Linked DNA regions of Homo sapiens: region 1 is linked to region 2. The links are contacts of gene promoters, found by promoter capture Hi-C in blood cells and fetal thymus (Javierre and others, 2016). All regions are on one chromosome and are shown on one strand. The core of a region is centred on a gene start or on the middle of the fragment in contact, and the rest is flanking DNA. Distances in the headings are between cores, read along the strand shown.

Region 1 (7,698 bases), core at 4,441-6,940, 120 kb after region 2:
TTTGTCACAAGGTTTCTATTCCATGATTGAAACTATTTATCTTTTGAGGGAAAAAAGATTTATAATGTTTCCAGTAAAGTTGCCTGTATTAATCTATGTGAACTTCCATAATAAAATGTCATAGATTGAGTGGCTTAAACAACAGACATTTATTTTGCATAGTTCTGCGGGCTGAAAATCTATGATCAAAATCCAGCACTGTTTGGTTTCTGGTGAGGGCTCTCTTCCTGGCTTCTAGATTGCCACCTTCTCATGGTGTCCTTAGACGGTCTTTTCTTTGAGTGTACTTGGAGAGAGAGCTCTTTCTCTTCCTCTTATAAGGCCACCAACCTTGTGTGATTAGGGACCTACCCTTATGACCTCATTTAACTTTAATTACCTCCTAAAGGCCCTATCTCAAACTACAGTCACATTAGGGTGAAGGTTTCAATATTTTGGGGGGATAAAATTCAGTCCATGGCAGTTTCGATTACGTTATAAAATAATACTGTTTTTCAAAGGCATAAGAAACTAGCAAGGGAGAATCATTATGTATTCACAGAGTTGAAGGAAAAGAGGGGTGGTGTGGTAAAAATCGAAAATTATTTGCCACTTACCTCTCTCTCTTTTTATAGAGACAGGGTCTTGCTCTGTCACACAGGCTAGAGTGCAGTGGCACCAACATATTTCACTGGAGCCTCAACCTCCTGCTTCAGCCCCCTGAGTAGCTGGGAGTACCTATGTGTGCACTACCATGGCTTGTTAATTTTTCAAAAGAAATTTTTGTCGAGACAGGGTCTCATTATGCTGCCTAAGCTAGTCACAAACTTCTGGTCGCAAGCAATCCTCCTGGCTTAGTCAGCCTCCCAAAGTGCTGCAATTACAGGCATGAGCTACCACATCTGGCCTACTTTTCTTGCAATAAAATCCAGACACAGTTTTAGGGTTTCTTTCTGTGTGTAAAATATTGTGGTAAAATCTTTAGATTACTGACTTAATTTTTCAGGAAGTAAGAAGCATTTTAAGATAATGTACCACACATCTTCTCACACTGTGGTATGTGACGGTTAAAAATGCAGCAAAAAATATGGACCTTTACTTCACGAATTTAGAATTTTACTGGCAATATTGAGGTATGAGTTTGCTAATTCTCAAAGGAATCTTATATGTGTCTATTCAGGAATAGTAATTTGATTATTTTGAATAAATGTGCCTGATGACAGTGTATTAGTCAATTTTCATGCTGCTGATAAAGACATACCAAGACTGGGAAGAAAAGGAAGTTTAATTGGACTTATAGTTCCACATGGTTGGGGAGGCCTCAGAATCATGGTGGGAGGTGAAAGGCACTTCTTACATAGTGGTGGCAAGAGAAAATGAGGAAGAAGCAAAAGCAGAAAGCCCTAATAAACCCATCAGATCTTGTGAAACTTATTCACTATCATGAGAATAGCATGGGAAAGACTGGCCCCCAAGATTCAATTATCTCCCCCGGGTCCCCCTTCACAACACATGGGAATTCTGGGAGATACAATTCCAGTTGAGATTTGGGTTGGGACACAGCCAAACCATATCACTCAGTAAAGTGAAAAGTTTGATTTTCAAAAATTTCTTGTCTTGATTTGTTACAGGCCTAATTGACCAAATGAATTAATCTTTTGTCACAATGATGGCAAATTCTGTCAGTCCAATGATTGGTCACACATTCTATTTGCACTCTATGCAAGCATATTAGCTTTTCTTTCTTGAAAAATCAGTGTCTTCCTTGGCAATAAGAGGATGAAGGGGGAAATTTTATTTCGAATAATGCCATGTTTAAGAACTCGACAAATCTTGGGTCAGATTCATTCTCCCCTCCTGGAAGGCTGAACCAGGAAGTAGAGCCCAGCAATGTTGAATACTCATTAACTCTTCCAGATCACTCTTCCGGTCCCATTCAGTCAATTGCTACTTCAGACCCTTGGTTTCTGGAGAGAACCTGACTCATTCTCACTCTGCTTTAATCATCCTCTGAAAGTGGGCTGTGGGCCTGGAGCAAGGGTGAGTAAGGACATGTCAGCGCTCCTCTCAATCCAAGGGATACTAGGTGCAGCTGAGTTGGTAGCTCACATCCCTGCTGTGGCTGTAAAGGGAGGGAAGATGGCACTTTATCATGAACTTGCAGTAAAGGTGAAGGACAGCTCTTCCAAAAGAGGGGCAGCTGCTAATCTCAAGATCAGATTCTGTGACACTGTTGTCACTTTGCTCAGTCAGGCACAGATACAGTTTTATGCATTGATGTGGTTAGAGCTTGCCAGAAACCAACCCAAGGGTGTGCTATCTTGCTTTCTTTTTCTTTGTCTTTTGGGGTAAGTTACATCTACCGTTTCAGTCTATGGAAGCTGGCGGTCTTAAGCAAAGCCACACTTACTTCCTAAGCTGTTCAACAAATCAAAACCCTGTTCAGAAAGGCAGGAGGAGCCAGGTGCTGGGTGGGGAAGTCTTCCTTCACTGCCTGGCTGGACTCAGAAGCCCTCCAGTGCACTGCAGCAGAGAAGACTTTGATCTCAAAGTAATTTTCACCTTGATCTCATCTATAGGCCCTGAAGACTCTTCCTGGGTGTCTGTCAATGCAAGGAGTGGGCCTTGGCATTTGTTGTAACGAACTGAAAAATGACCACAAATCACCATCTTCCGTGTTGATGGGGACTATTTGTTTAACGGCATTGCTTAGGCCATTAAAAGACCCCTCGGGAATCAGGAAGGGGTGAAGATTTGAAACATTTTCATCCTTGGTTCAAGACAATAGAATTTGAAGATGCCTTTACCCCACTGATGTGGATATCAAGAGTATCCAGGGTGAGAGGTCACAGAGTCATCCGCCTGACTGCGTCTGCATGAGCAAAGATAGACAGGATGAGACTGAAAATTCTTCGCTTCATTCATTTCTGTATTTCTGGGCCATGCCCTCTAACAATTGCAAAGATGAACTGCAGCGAATTGGAATGACCTAACATTTCTGTGACATCTGATTCTGTTGTACCTGAACATCCCAGAGACCACACCGCTCAAGGGAAATGTATATTTGAAAAATATCTTGTGAATGTCTCTAAGCCAGAAAATAAAAATGGACTTTTCAGAGCTAGCAGAGATCCACTTTCGAGCCTGATGCAGCCTCTCTGGTGATTTATAATGCATTGACAGTATTCCCCAGATAATTCTTAGAGCCCTCCATTACCACCCAATGAATAGAGGCCATCTCACTGGGGTGTCAGCGAGGTTGAAATTTGCTAAGAATTTACTAGCCCAGAGAAATGCATGAGAGAGAAGTGCCAGATGATACATCTGGAAGAGACCACTGCTGATTCTACAGATGCAAAATCCCATGCAGTCAGGGTAGTGACTTACCTGGGACCACACAGCTAACCATGGCAATGGAGGACTAGCGTTCAGGTCTCTGAACACCCAGCTTTGTGTTTAAAGACTGCACTGACCACTAGGAATAACAGGTCTGGTTAATGCACCATTGGCCATTCTGACAATGCTTTACTAACTGCCTGAGATAGACCAAGACTTCCTTCAGCAGTCAGGAAGTCAGAAGAGCAAGGAAGCAATTTGGCTCTACAGGGTGGAGACAAAATGCCTTTTCAATAGGTTGCTAAGTTCTCCATTTAACAAGAGCCAAAGAAAAAGTTCATACCAAAAACACCTTATAAACAAAATTCATCCTTTATACAGACATCTGCTCTTCTTCAGGGGGGCTGCGGGCCATTAGGGCCATGTGCTTGTCACGACGCTTGCAGCAGATGTTTGCTAATACTTTAAGATCTCCCTGTGATGTGGTTATTGTTTAATTCTCCTGTAAGGAGAGTTTTGCTCAAATTAAACAGGAAGGCTTAAATGCGAACTAGGGTGCAATGTCCTGCTGTGCATTTGTTACAGTGGCACATCAAAGCTCTAAGAAAGGGGCTTGGGGTTTTCTTCAAGTTCACCAGAGGCCCCAAAGCACTATGCCATGGTGAGTGAGAGAAGCTGTGTCTCATTTTCGTATGCATTTATGTTCAACTACATTGCAGGGTTGTTCTGTTAGCCCTATTGTGCCTTTTGTTTAAAAGGCCAGACTGCTTTGAAGTGAGCTGGCAGAGCATGATGACAGAGGGCCACTCAGGCAGGGCCCATGGCCAGAGCCTGGAAAGGCAGTAGGAAAAGCTGTATTCTTCATGCCTGACCAGGTCTCTGCACTTCACATGAGCAAATGGAATCACTTTAAGAAAGGACTATTAGAAAGCCAAATGTGAGATGAAAAATGACTGTCCATTGTGACCCATGTGTGCTGAGACTGAGAGAGGAATCAATGGTGAGATCAATAAATATTTTATCAAGCACCTCCCTTGGTCAAGAAGCAAAAGACTGGGCAATGTTTGCTCTCCTGGGGGGATTACAATTTTAAATCCACTCTCTTACCACCTAGGAGCTAGACAGAACATAAACATGTTAGAAATTAAAGCGTGAAGGTTGAAAAAATATTTCAAGAAGAGAACAGAAGAGGGAGAGTGATTCACTAAATGAACAGTCTGTATTTGCCATGGGTCCAGGGAGAAAGAGTCTGGTCTGGCCGGGTAAAGCTTTCCTGGAGAGGAGAAGCTTCTCTAGTGGGAAGCAGTTGGTTTGGACTTTACTGGATGGTATTAGTTTCTGTGTCACATCCATGTTTATGAAAAAGTAAAGCCTTATTACTCTTCGTAAGGAGTTAAGAGCCACCTGACTGCCACAGACATTAATTCCTTTGTGATGGGATCCAGTGCAAATGAAAGCACATGATTAATGATGGGATGGTCTTATTCTTAGGTGGCAGCAAGGCTCACAATTTTTCACATTCACATACGTGACTGCATGGATTTTCTAACTAATAATTTGCCACCCACAGCAACACCTAGACAATGGATCTCCACTCACTCTCCCTTGTCACTCAGAAAAAAATCCACATGATTCTCAGGTTTAAATCCCATCAAGGTTATGATTCAGGTTCTCTTGGCTCCAGGCCTGATCCTCCTCTTTCCCTTCCAAATAATTATCCAGGTTCACAAAAATGGACATTTGTGGAGCTCTTGCCTTTTTCTGTCTTGGAAGAACCAGCAAGAATCTACCCTTTCCCAAACTTCCATTCACTCATTTATTATTTTTTTTTATTGAGCACTAGCTATGTGTCAAGCACTGTACTAGGCACAGTAGATTCCATAATAAAAACATTGGAACATAGTGAAGTGAAGGGATAGAGGTAAGCAAAGAGGTTATGATGATACTGTCTGTGATGTGCAGTGATAAAGGGAGGACACAGCAGGGGGCTCTGGTTCCTGACTTGGGGTGTAAAGAAGGTATCCGTATTAGTCTGTTTTCATGCTGCTGATAAAGACATACCAGAGACAGGGCAATTTACAAAAGAAAGTGGTTTAATTGGACTTAACAGTTCCACGTGGCTAGGGAAGCCTCACAATCGTGGTGGAAGGCAAGGAGGAGCAAGTCACGCCTTACATGGATGGCAGCAGGCAGAGAGAGAGAGCGTGTGCAGGGGAACTCCTCTTTTTAAAACCATCGGATCTCATGAGACTTATTTACTCTCATGAGAACAGCAGGGGAAAGACTTGCCCTCATGATTCAATTACCTCCCACTAGGTCCCTCCCTCAACACATGGGAATTCAAGATGAGATTTGGGTGGGGACACAGCCAAACCATATCAGTATCCCAGGAGGTGATGTCAAAGCTGAACCTGAGTGAGCAGAGCAGGAGGTGGTCAGGCAAAGTTGGACGGAGCAGAGGGCATTCCGACTACCCAGGCTTGCATAGGAAACACCTGGAGGCATGGTGGTCCTGTTGTAAAAGCCCAAATGCTGTTTCAGAGGATGGAGCCAAAAATGAGGCCATGGAGAAGAGCAGGGGTCAGTTGCTGAAGGCCGTATAAGAATGTCAAGAGTTTTGGCTCTCATGAGGGGACCAGGGCACTAACAGAGAGTTAGAAGTGCCGCATTGCAACAAGCTCAGAGTGACTTGCCATTTAACACTCACTGGGCACATTAATCTCTCTCAGCATTTTAAAGAAATGACTGCATCCCAGTGAAGTGTTAGCTGACTCACAGAGGAGCAAAGGTTTTCTCATTTTACAGGTGAGGAAACTTGAGATACATGGAGGTGCCAAGGCTCATGGAGTTCGTACAGGAACCAAGAGTAGAAGGTGAACAATCAGCAAAGTTTGTGACAGGAGAGGGGAAATGTGATAAGGGCAAAATTAATGTACCGTCCAAGCTGAACTAAGCTAATGCACAGCATAAATTCTTTGAATGATTTTTTTAAACCAAACTCTTTGCTTGAAACTTAATCAGGAATTTACTGCGGGACATTGAAGGTCAAGGTTTTAGAGTGCCACTACAAATAGCTCTTATCCTGAGTCCTAGTAATACAGCCAGACTAGGCAGTGTGTCAAAACCAAGAGCTCCCTTTGCTATGTAGAAATGCAGAAGGGAGAGCCCAGCATCACTTGAAACCAGAGGCAGATAGACAGTGGTCTTTCCCCTTGAGTGTACAAAGAGGTAATAACAGGATCCACCTCCTCACATGAGGACATGTGAGTTAATACATGTTGTAGTGTATTGAGCAGAACCTGGCATATGATAAGTGCTTGATTTGTTAGCTGTTCTTTCCTGTGTGTTCCCTTAAAGATACAGGTATACAGTTTGAGAAACATGGTGGTACAGGAGTCTTCTAAAAGCACACAGCTTTTCTGTCATCTAGCAGTGCTATAATTGTGTAGTTAGGCAAATGGAATCAAGCTTGACAAGGAAGACGCTGTACCAAGTGTCCCTCAATACCCAGCACTTCTTCATCCCAACAGCATTCACCATGCACCTCCCAAACATTCACTGGTGTTAATGTGGAAGTGCAGAGCATTGGCTTCTGGTGTGGATCATCAGAAACAGGTGGCCAAATAAAAATGGACAGAATCTGTCCCATGTGAAGAGGGAGTAAGCTGAAAGTGTGGTGTCCGGAAATTATTGTAAATTTTATTGCATTTGTAATTTCATGTTATATGTGATTTAATTAAACATATAATATCTAATAAAAGTCCCTGGGAATCCAGATATCTGAGTTACACGTAAAAAGAAGGAAGAAAATATATTTTTTTACTTAAAAAGCCACCCTTTTCAGTGACTTATGTCAGATTATTATTATTATTATTATTATTATTGAGACAGAATGTCGCTCTGTTGCCCAGGCTGGAGTGCAGTGGTGCAATCTTGATTCACTGTAACCTCCGCCTCCCAGGTTCAAGCGATTCTTGTGCCTCAGCTTCCTGAGTAGCTGAGATTACAGGTGCACTCCACGTGCCTGGCTAATTTTTGTATTTTTAGTAGAGACAGGGTTTCACCATGTTGGCCAGGCTGGTCTCGAACCCCTGACCTCAAGTGATCCACCCACCTTAGCCTCCCAAAGTGCTGAGACTACAGGTGTCAGCTTCTGCGCCTGACCAACTTATGTCAGTTTAACAGGTCCATGCTGTCTGCCCTTCATTTTCTGACTAATCCTTTGTAGCAATCTCTGAACCATCAATTCAATGAGGCATTAAGAAATAAGAGACTTCACCATTTTGTAGAAGCCTTTGGCATTTAGATGGGCTCTCCAGGGTGTAACTCACACAAAAACAACACAGATTAATATGAAACATGTTATAAATGGAAACAAACAAA
Region 2 (6,955 bases), core at 1,453-3,952:
AATTCACTTAACACACATAATATTTTTATGAGGTAGTTAGTGTAACTATATTTTTCAAATGAGGATAATGATTCACAGAGAGTTCAGAAACTAGTATAAGGTCACAGAACCAGGATTTGAGCCAGGTAGTTTGCTTCCAGAACCCAGGCGCTCAGCTACTGCACTGTGCTACTTCTCCATGTGTGGTGTAGAAACATGGGGAAAATATTTGTCATGGCAAAATTTTATTTGTTACTTTTGGCATTATTTACAAGTATAAAATATTATTCATACATTATAATACCAGTCATGTAGAGTAGCTGGGTAGAGAAGTTATTATCATTGCAGAAACTACATATTGCAGAAATAATGTCTTTATAGAAGAGGGACTTCGCTTTTTCTATTCATATGTAAGAGACATACAAGTGCTACTAGTGCACACTATTAACTTTACTCAAAAGGCTAACTACAGGATATCTTCTAAGAGGAATTTTGTCTACTGTATTTCTCTGGCGCACATGGACTCAATACCTCATTGCTTTTCACTTGTGATGATGTCTTTTTTTTATTGCTCTACATCATCTATCCATTGAGGATGTTGCTTGATATGTGTCCTCTGCAAGTATATAGCAAGATTCTCAAAGCCAAGAGAAGTATCTTGTAATTTTTTTTTTTTTTTTTAGATGGAGTCTCGCTTTGTCACCAGGCTGGAGTGCAGTGGTGCGATCTCGGCTCACTCACTGCAACCTCCAACTCCCTGGTTCAAGCGATTCTCCTGCCTCAGCCTCCCAAGTACCTGGGATTACAGGCATGCACCACCACACCCAGCTGATTTTTGTATTTTTAGTAGAGACGGGGTTTCATCATGTTGGCCAGGATGGCCTCGATCTCTTGACCTCGTGTTCTGCCTGCCTCGGCCTCCCAAAGTGCTGGGATTACAGGCGTGAGCCACCGCATCTGGTCCGAGAAGTATCTTGTATTTATATATTGCAATGAGACTTCTCTCTCACGTCTTCACACTAAAGCATCATATCCCTCCAGTTCTGAATTTCTCTTGAGCTTCACAATGTTCTTCTGAGCACTGAAGCAATATAATTTAACTATAATTTATAAAGCTGAATAAAGCGGTACATATATAATGCCCAGCAGCAGGTACCTCAAGCTTTACATATCTCAAAACTCAAAGTATTTTTTTCCGTCAAATCTGTGCCTCCTCAATATTTTCACCTTCAGTAGCAGAAGTTTTTCACCCATGACTTTTCTTTCCCATTCACCAAATTTTAAAATTCCTCCATCACAAATGCCTCTTCTGCCACCTCTTTTTAATTTCCACTAGTCCTGACCATGTGCAGGTCATAATTATCTGCCTCTTAGACCACTGCAGTAGTCTTCTAATAGATTGCTCTGAATCCAATTTCTAATTAGTAGAATCCATCCTTTGTATTCCTCCCCATGATACATTTCCAAATATTGCTATGATGTACTTATTCAATCAAAAAAATTTGGACAGAATATAGTCCAAATTCTTTACCATGGCATTCAAGGCTCTCCAAAAACTGGCCTTGGATTCCTAGCTGGCTAGCTCATTGAGGTTAGGAGTATGTTTCTTAAAATATCTGGATAGAGCAGCAAGTTCTGTGTGTCTCTGTAGATGTGTGTATATTTATGTACACACATTTGTTTTATTGATGGAATCATTAACATTACTCTCATGCATCATGATTGCTTAGCTGGAAATGTTGTCAAATAAAAAACAGGGCCAGACAGTAGTTGAAGTGGCAAAAACACTGTAGTCAGGAACTACTGCAATAAGAGAAAAGAGACCTCAATACAGAGCTGGGCTCAATTCCAATTACAGCATGGACAAGTGGGGATTTAAAGCCAAGGGGGCGTCAGGTCAAGTGGATGGAAACTTACTGATAGGGAACATCACGGGTGGGAGGGTTCTGATTAAGCAGGCCTAATAGGATTCTTGCTGAAGCCAGGCCAGGGTGGTCAGATACCAATGATAGAAAATGAAGAATTTGATCAGGTATCGACGGTAATCAGGTATGAAGGGTTGGGGGTTCTCTCTCAACAGCCGTAGCGAGACCTTTGCTACAACTCGGTGATCCAGGGTCCACAGGATTGGAAGCCAAGGTCAAGGCCTAGTCGGAAAGAAGGCTTAGATGAGCCTGACCAAAGTTCAGCCAAGGAGAGTTTTTGCCAGTGTATTCACACTCCGTGTGTGTGTGGTGTGTCTGTCTCAGTACTACTGTAATTGATGAGGCAGGGGCTCCCTGGCCATCCCAGCAGTGTCACCATCTTTTGGGTAGAACAGCAGACACAGAGATGGCCCACTGTGGACAGTTAACTAACTGGCTCTGTTTAGCATGGGAAAGGAAGGAGAGTCCTGATTTTCTTTCAATATTCCTCAGGTATATTGATCTGACCCCCAAGTTACATAAGATCTGCAGTGATAAAACCATTACCCAAAAAACTCACTGTCTTTTACCACTTATATCCTCAGCATTATCATCAATTGTCTTAATACAAGGTTGGTGGCAAAAAACGGCTCACAAGTATGCATACAAAGGGGCCAAACACATTGAGCAGCAAAACCCCCAAAGCAGACACCGCCCGAGACCCGCTGGAGCGCTTCCGCAAATCTCGCGAGATAGCAGGCAGCGATGCCTTTTGCTCCGGTTTCTCGTGAGACCCCGGGGCTTCAGCTTCTCGTTTGCGGAGCCCGCGGCGGCGTTTCCTGGGGCAACAGCAATGGCGGCCTCGCTGTCCGAGCGGCTCTTCTCGCTGGAGCTGCTGGTGGACTGGGTGCGTTTGGAAGCCCGGCTGCTGCCGTCCCCCGCTGCCGCAGTGGAGCAGGAGGAGGAAGAGGAGGAAAAGGAGCAGGGGGAGGCCTCGTCGCCGCGCGGTCTGTGCCCCGCCGTGGCCTTCCGCCTGCTGGACTTCCCCACGCTGTTGGTTTACCCTCCTGACGGCCCCGGCGCTCCCGCCGCCGAACCGTGGCCCGGTGTCATCCGCTTCGGTCGCGGCAAGTCCTGCCTCTTCCGCCTGCAGCCTGCTACCCTGCACTGCCGGCTCCTGCGGACCCCGCTTGCCACCTTGCTGCTGCAGCTGCCCCCTGGGCGCCCGACGCCCACCCCACAGCTCCTGGGGGCCTGCGACATTTCGCTGGCCACCGCAGCGCACAGGGTCGTGGGGCCGGCCGCCTCCGGATGCTCCCACCGTCACCGGGGACGTTTCCCCCTGCATAATCGAGTGGGCGAGCGGACTGGGGACATTGCACTGGCCTACCGCCTGACTGACCTGGGAAGCCGCCTGCTGAGCCAACTTGAGCGGCCCCTCACCTTCACCCGCACAGGAGGAGGAGCGGAGGTCAGTCCCCAAACCCAGCAGGAAAGACAGCAGCTGCAGCAGCCAGCCTCACAGCCAAGCCCAAAAGAGGCTGATAAGCCGCTGGGGGAGTTAGAAATCCCAGAGGCACAGAAGGATTTGAAGGAAATGGTTAAAAGTAAGGCCGAATGTGATAATGTGGGTTCTGTGGAGAATGGCAAAACCAATTCTGTTGTTACATGTTCAGGTGCTGGCAATGGGAGAAATGTTAGCTCCCTAAATGAGGAAGTCACAGAATTGGACATGGAGACCAATATATTTTGCCCTCCTCCTTTGTATTACACTAACTTGACCCAAGAAAAACCGCCCCCTGCACAGGCTAAAATCACCATTGAGCCTCAAATGAATGCACCTGAGGAAATGGATGATGCTTCTCCTGAAAAAAAGCGTGTAAATCCCCCAGCACACAGGAGTTGTCTAAAGCATCCAAGTTCTGCAGCACACGAACATCCTCCAATGCTTGTAAATCCTCCACATATTCAGAATATAGGAGCAACTAATCAAACATGTCAAACTGAACAAAATCGAATTAATACAATAAGGCAGTTGCCTTTGTTAAATGCTTTGTTAGTTGAGTTGTCCTTGTTATATGACCAACCTGTGACAAGTCCTGCTCATATACATCCTCACCTAGCCTGGTTATATAGGACTGAGGATAAGAAGTCACCCGAATCTTCTGCCAAATCCACATGCCGGTCTGAAGCCAAGAAGGATAAGCGTTCTGTGGGGGGATGTGAAAAGTCAGTGAGTCTTCAGTATAAAAAGAACCAAATTGAAAACTATAAGGAAGATAAATATTCTGAAAAGAGCAGTGGTGCCCTCCATAAAAGAGTTCCAAAAGGGAGGCTACTTTATGGCTTAACAAATACACTAAGACTACGTTTAAAGCTGACAAATCCTGATATGTTGGTGGTACATGAAAAAAGAGAACTATATAGAAAAAGACAATCACAAATGTTGGGTACAAAATTCAGAATTCCGTCATCCAAAGTTAAACTATTAAGCTCTGCAGAACAAAGTCAGAAGCCACAACTGCCTGAAGATAAGTATTTAGATTCAGATGCATCTTTCACTGAAAATAGTGATACCTCAAGACAAATCAGTGGAGTTTTTGATGAGCCCAGCACAAGTAAAGAAACTAAACTGAAATATGCAACTGAAAAAAAGACAGTTGATTGTAGTAAAAATAGAATCAATAATGTTTCATTGGAAGAAGTTGTGAGTCCTGCAAATTCCATTATTCCAGAAAGGCTTACCCCTACAAATATTCTGGGAGGAAATGTGGAAATGAAAATCCAAAGTCCATGTGTTTTCCAACAGGATGCTGTTGTTGACAGAATTGTAGATAAGGAAATAGATATTAGACAGGTCAAAACCACAGATAATGACATTCTTATGGCTGATATAAGTGACAAGAGAACAGGTAAAAATAGTTGCTATGAAAACATCTCAGAACTGAAGTATTCAGATGATTTGTCTAGCCCTTGCTATTCTGAAGATTTCTGTACCAGTGAGGACACCAGCAGAAGTTTCAAAGCTCATGATAGCAGTTCAAGGACAGAAAATCCAAAACATAGTCAATATACAAGCAAGTCTAGTGACACAGGAGTGTCCAAAAAGAAAAATAGTAGTGACAGGAGTTCTATCCTTAGCCCACCTTTTTCAGCCGGGTCACCTGTACACTCATACAGAAAATTTCATATTTCAAAGACTCAGGATAAAAGTTTGGAGGAAGCATCTAGTATCTCTGCTAGTGATTTATCTTCAACACATTGGACTGAACAAAAAGAAAACCAGATAGATCAAAATAGTATGCACAATTCTGAAATTACAAAGAGAGCTCAAGACATCTCTGTTAAAACAAGAAGTAGTTGGAAATCTTTAGAAAAAAGCCAGTCACCACAAACATCCCAGGTGAGTTCTTACCTGCCTTCAAATGTGTCCGAACTTAATGTCCTGGATAGCAGTACATCAGATCACTTTGAAGAAGGCAATGATGATGTTGGTTCACTAAATATTTCCAAGCAATGCAAAGATATTTGTGAATTAGTAATAAATAAACTTCCAGGATACACAATGTAAAAATACATGCTTTTAAAAAACTTTCAAGGACCTATGTGTACTGTTAGTGAAAAAAATTTTAAAGCTGTTTTAGTTCATGAATTATGTGAATAATTTTTTAAAGAAATATGAATTAACGTTATTCCTTTGATGTTTAAATGGTATTTTACCATTAAATCTGATAATATTGATTATTAAATCATATAAACAGATTTCTTTTTAAATTGTTTAATCATAAGAATAAAAGTGTGTCTTTCTAAATTGTCTCTCTTAAAGTGTCTAGTCTACAGTATTGATCATTCTAAAGCTGACTTCATGCACACCACTGAAAAAGAAGGCTAGTTAGTAAGGACAGCCTCAAATTTTAATTGGAACAAATTATTTAACAAATATAGAAGACTTACTGTGTTAGATGCAGAAAGGTGCAGAATCTATTTATGATAGAGCCCTGCTGTTTTAAAAGCTTACAGTTGTATGTAGATAAGAAGTCTTCCTTGACATATACATATCCCATATCCCCAATAGGTGAAGTTGCTTTTATATGCTCTCATAGTGCCCTGCACCTTTTGTTTATAAGCCACAATTTGTGTGATTACTTGATTAAAGTTTATCTTCCACTAGGCTTCAGTTGTGTGATGGGATCATATTTGTTTTACACATCAGTGCATTTTTGTATCTAGCACAATTCCTGGCATGTGGCTGCAGTGCAATAAAAACATTTGTTGAAAAAAACGAAGCCCAGGCATTTAAAATACCTAATGGGAGGGTTTAGAATTAAGCAGCAAAAATAAGCAGATTCCCTAAAATAAACCTGCAGAAAATCCTTATTGGAAATATATTTGACTGTAATATTTCTGTTTTGCTTGGTATAAATAGCCTTCAGGTGTTCTCTGAAATATTTGGAAAGGGAAACTTAAGAAGGTATCTTTTATACAGTTTCTGATATAGGAGTTCAGTTTCTTGTCATTTCAGTTTGTTCAATGGTTATTTTTAGTGTATGGAACTTTGTTTTTATGAAATCCAGTGATAATTTATAATTTATTCCATTGGTTTTATATTTAGACTTTATTCTGTGTTCAAATATTTACATATATTTTCTTCTAGCTGTGTTATACTTTAATTTTTAGACTTTTTAATATATCTAACGTTTTTGAATGTATGAAGTGAGGTTCTAATTTCCTTTCTTTAAAGGTAATTAATTATATAGGTATTCTGAATGATCATAATACTAGAATATAGATAGATGGTAAAAAGAGAGAAGAGGATGTTACATTTTGGGGAGCAATATGAATAAAAGAGTGATGGGAATGAGCCTGATATATTTATGGGACAATTTAAAATATTATCTTGAATAGAATGATCCACTCATGCTACAGAGTGGTAGAAAGGACATTTGTTGAGTAAGGAAAATGCCAGATTACAGAGAGCCTCAAATGCTAAGTATAATAATAGAATTCTAAGCAATAGGAATAACAGATTATTTTAGGTTATAAATGAGCACTAGTAAGTAGTCATGACATTT

The links. The method cuts DNA at HindIII sites, captures the fragments that hold promoters and counts their contacts. A CHiCAGO score of 5 or more calls a contact.
Region 1: a fragment that was not itself captured here is called in contact with the fragment with the promoter of MAP10 in region 2 in 2 of 17 cell types (fetal thymus and non-activated CD4 T cells); the score reaches 8.1 in fetal thymus.

What each region holds. Positions count from the first base shown.
Region 1 is chr1:232,921,878-232,929,575 of GRCh38, forward strand. No RefSeq gene overlaps it. Among named protein-coding and RNA genes, the nearest start is that of NTPCR, 25 kb to the right of the region's middle. RefSeq lists enhancers at 1,697-2,896, 2,463-2,522. The HindIII fragment of the contact is 2,181 bases long and covers 4,601-6,781 here.
Region 2 is chr1:232,802,714-232,809,668 of GRCh38, forward strand. MAP10 (microtubule associated protein 10) reads left to right here and starts at 2,703. Exons shown (of 1, transcript NM_019090.3): 1 at 2,703-6,955. The coding sequence starts at 2,737. The coding sequence ends at 5,454. RefSeq lists enhancers at 2,498-3,095, 2,807-2,886, 3,096-3,692. The HindIII fragment of the contact is 4,755 bases long and covers 1,140-5,894 here.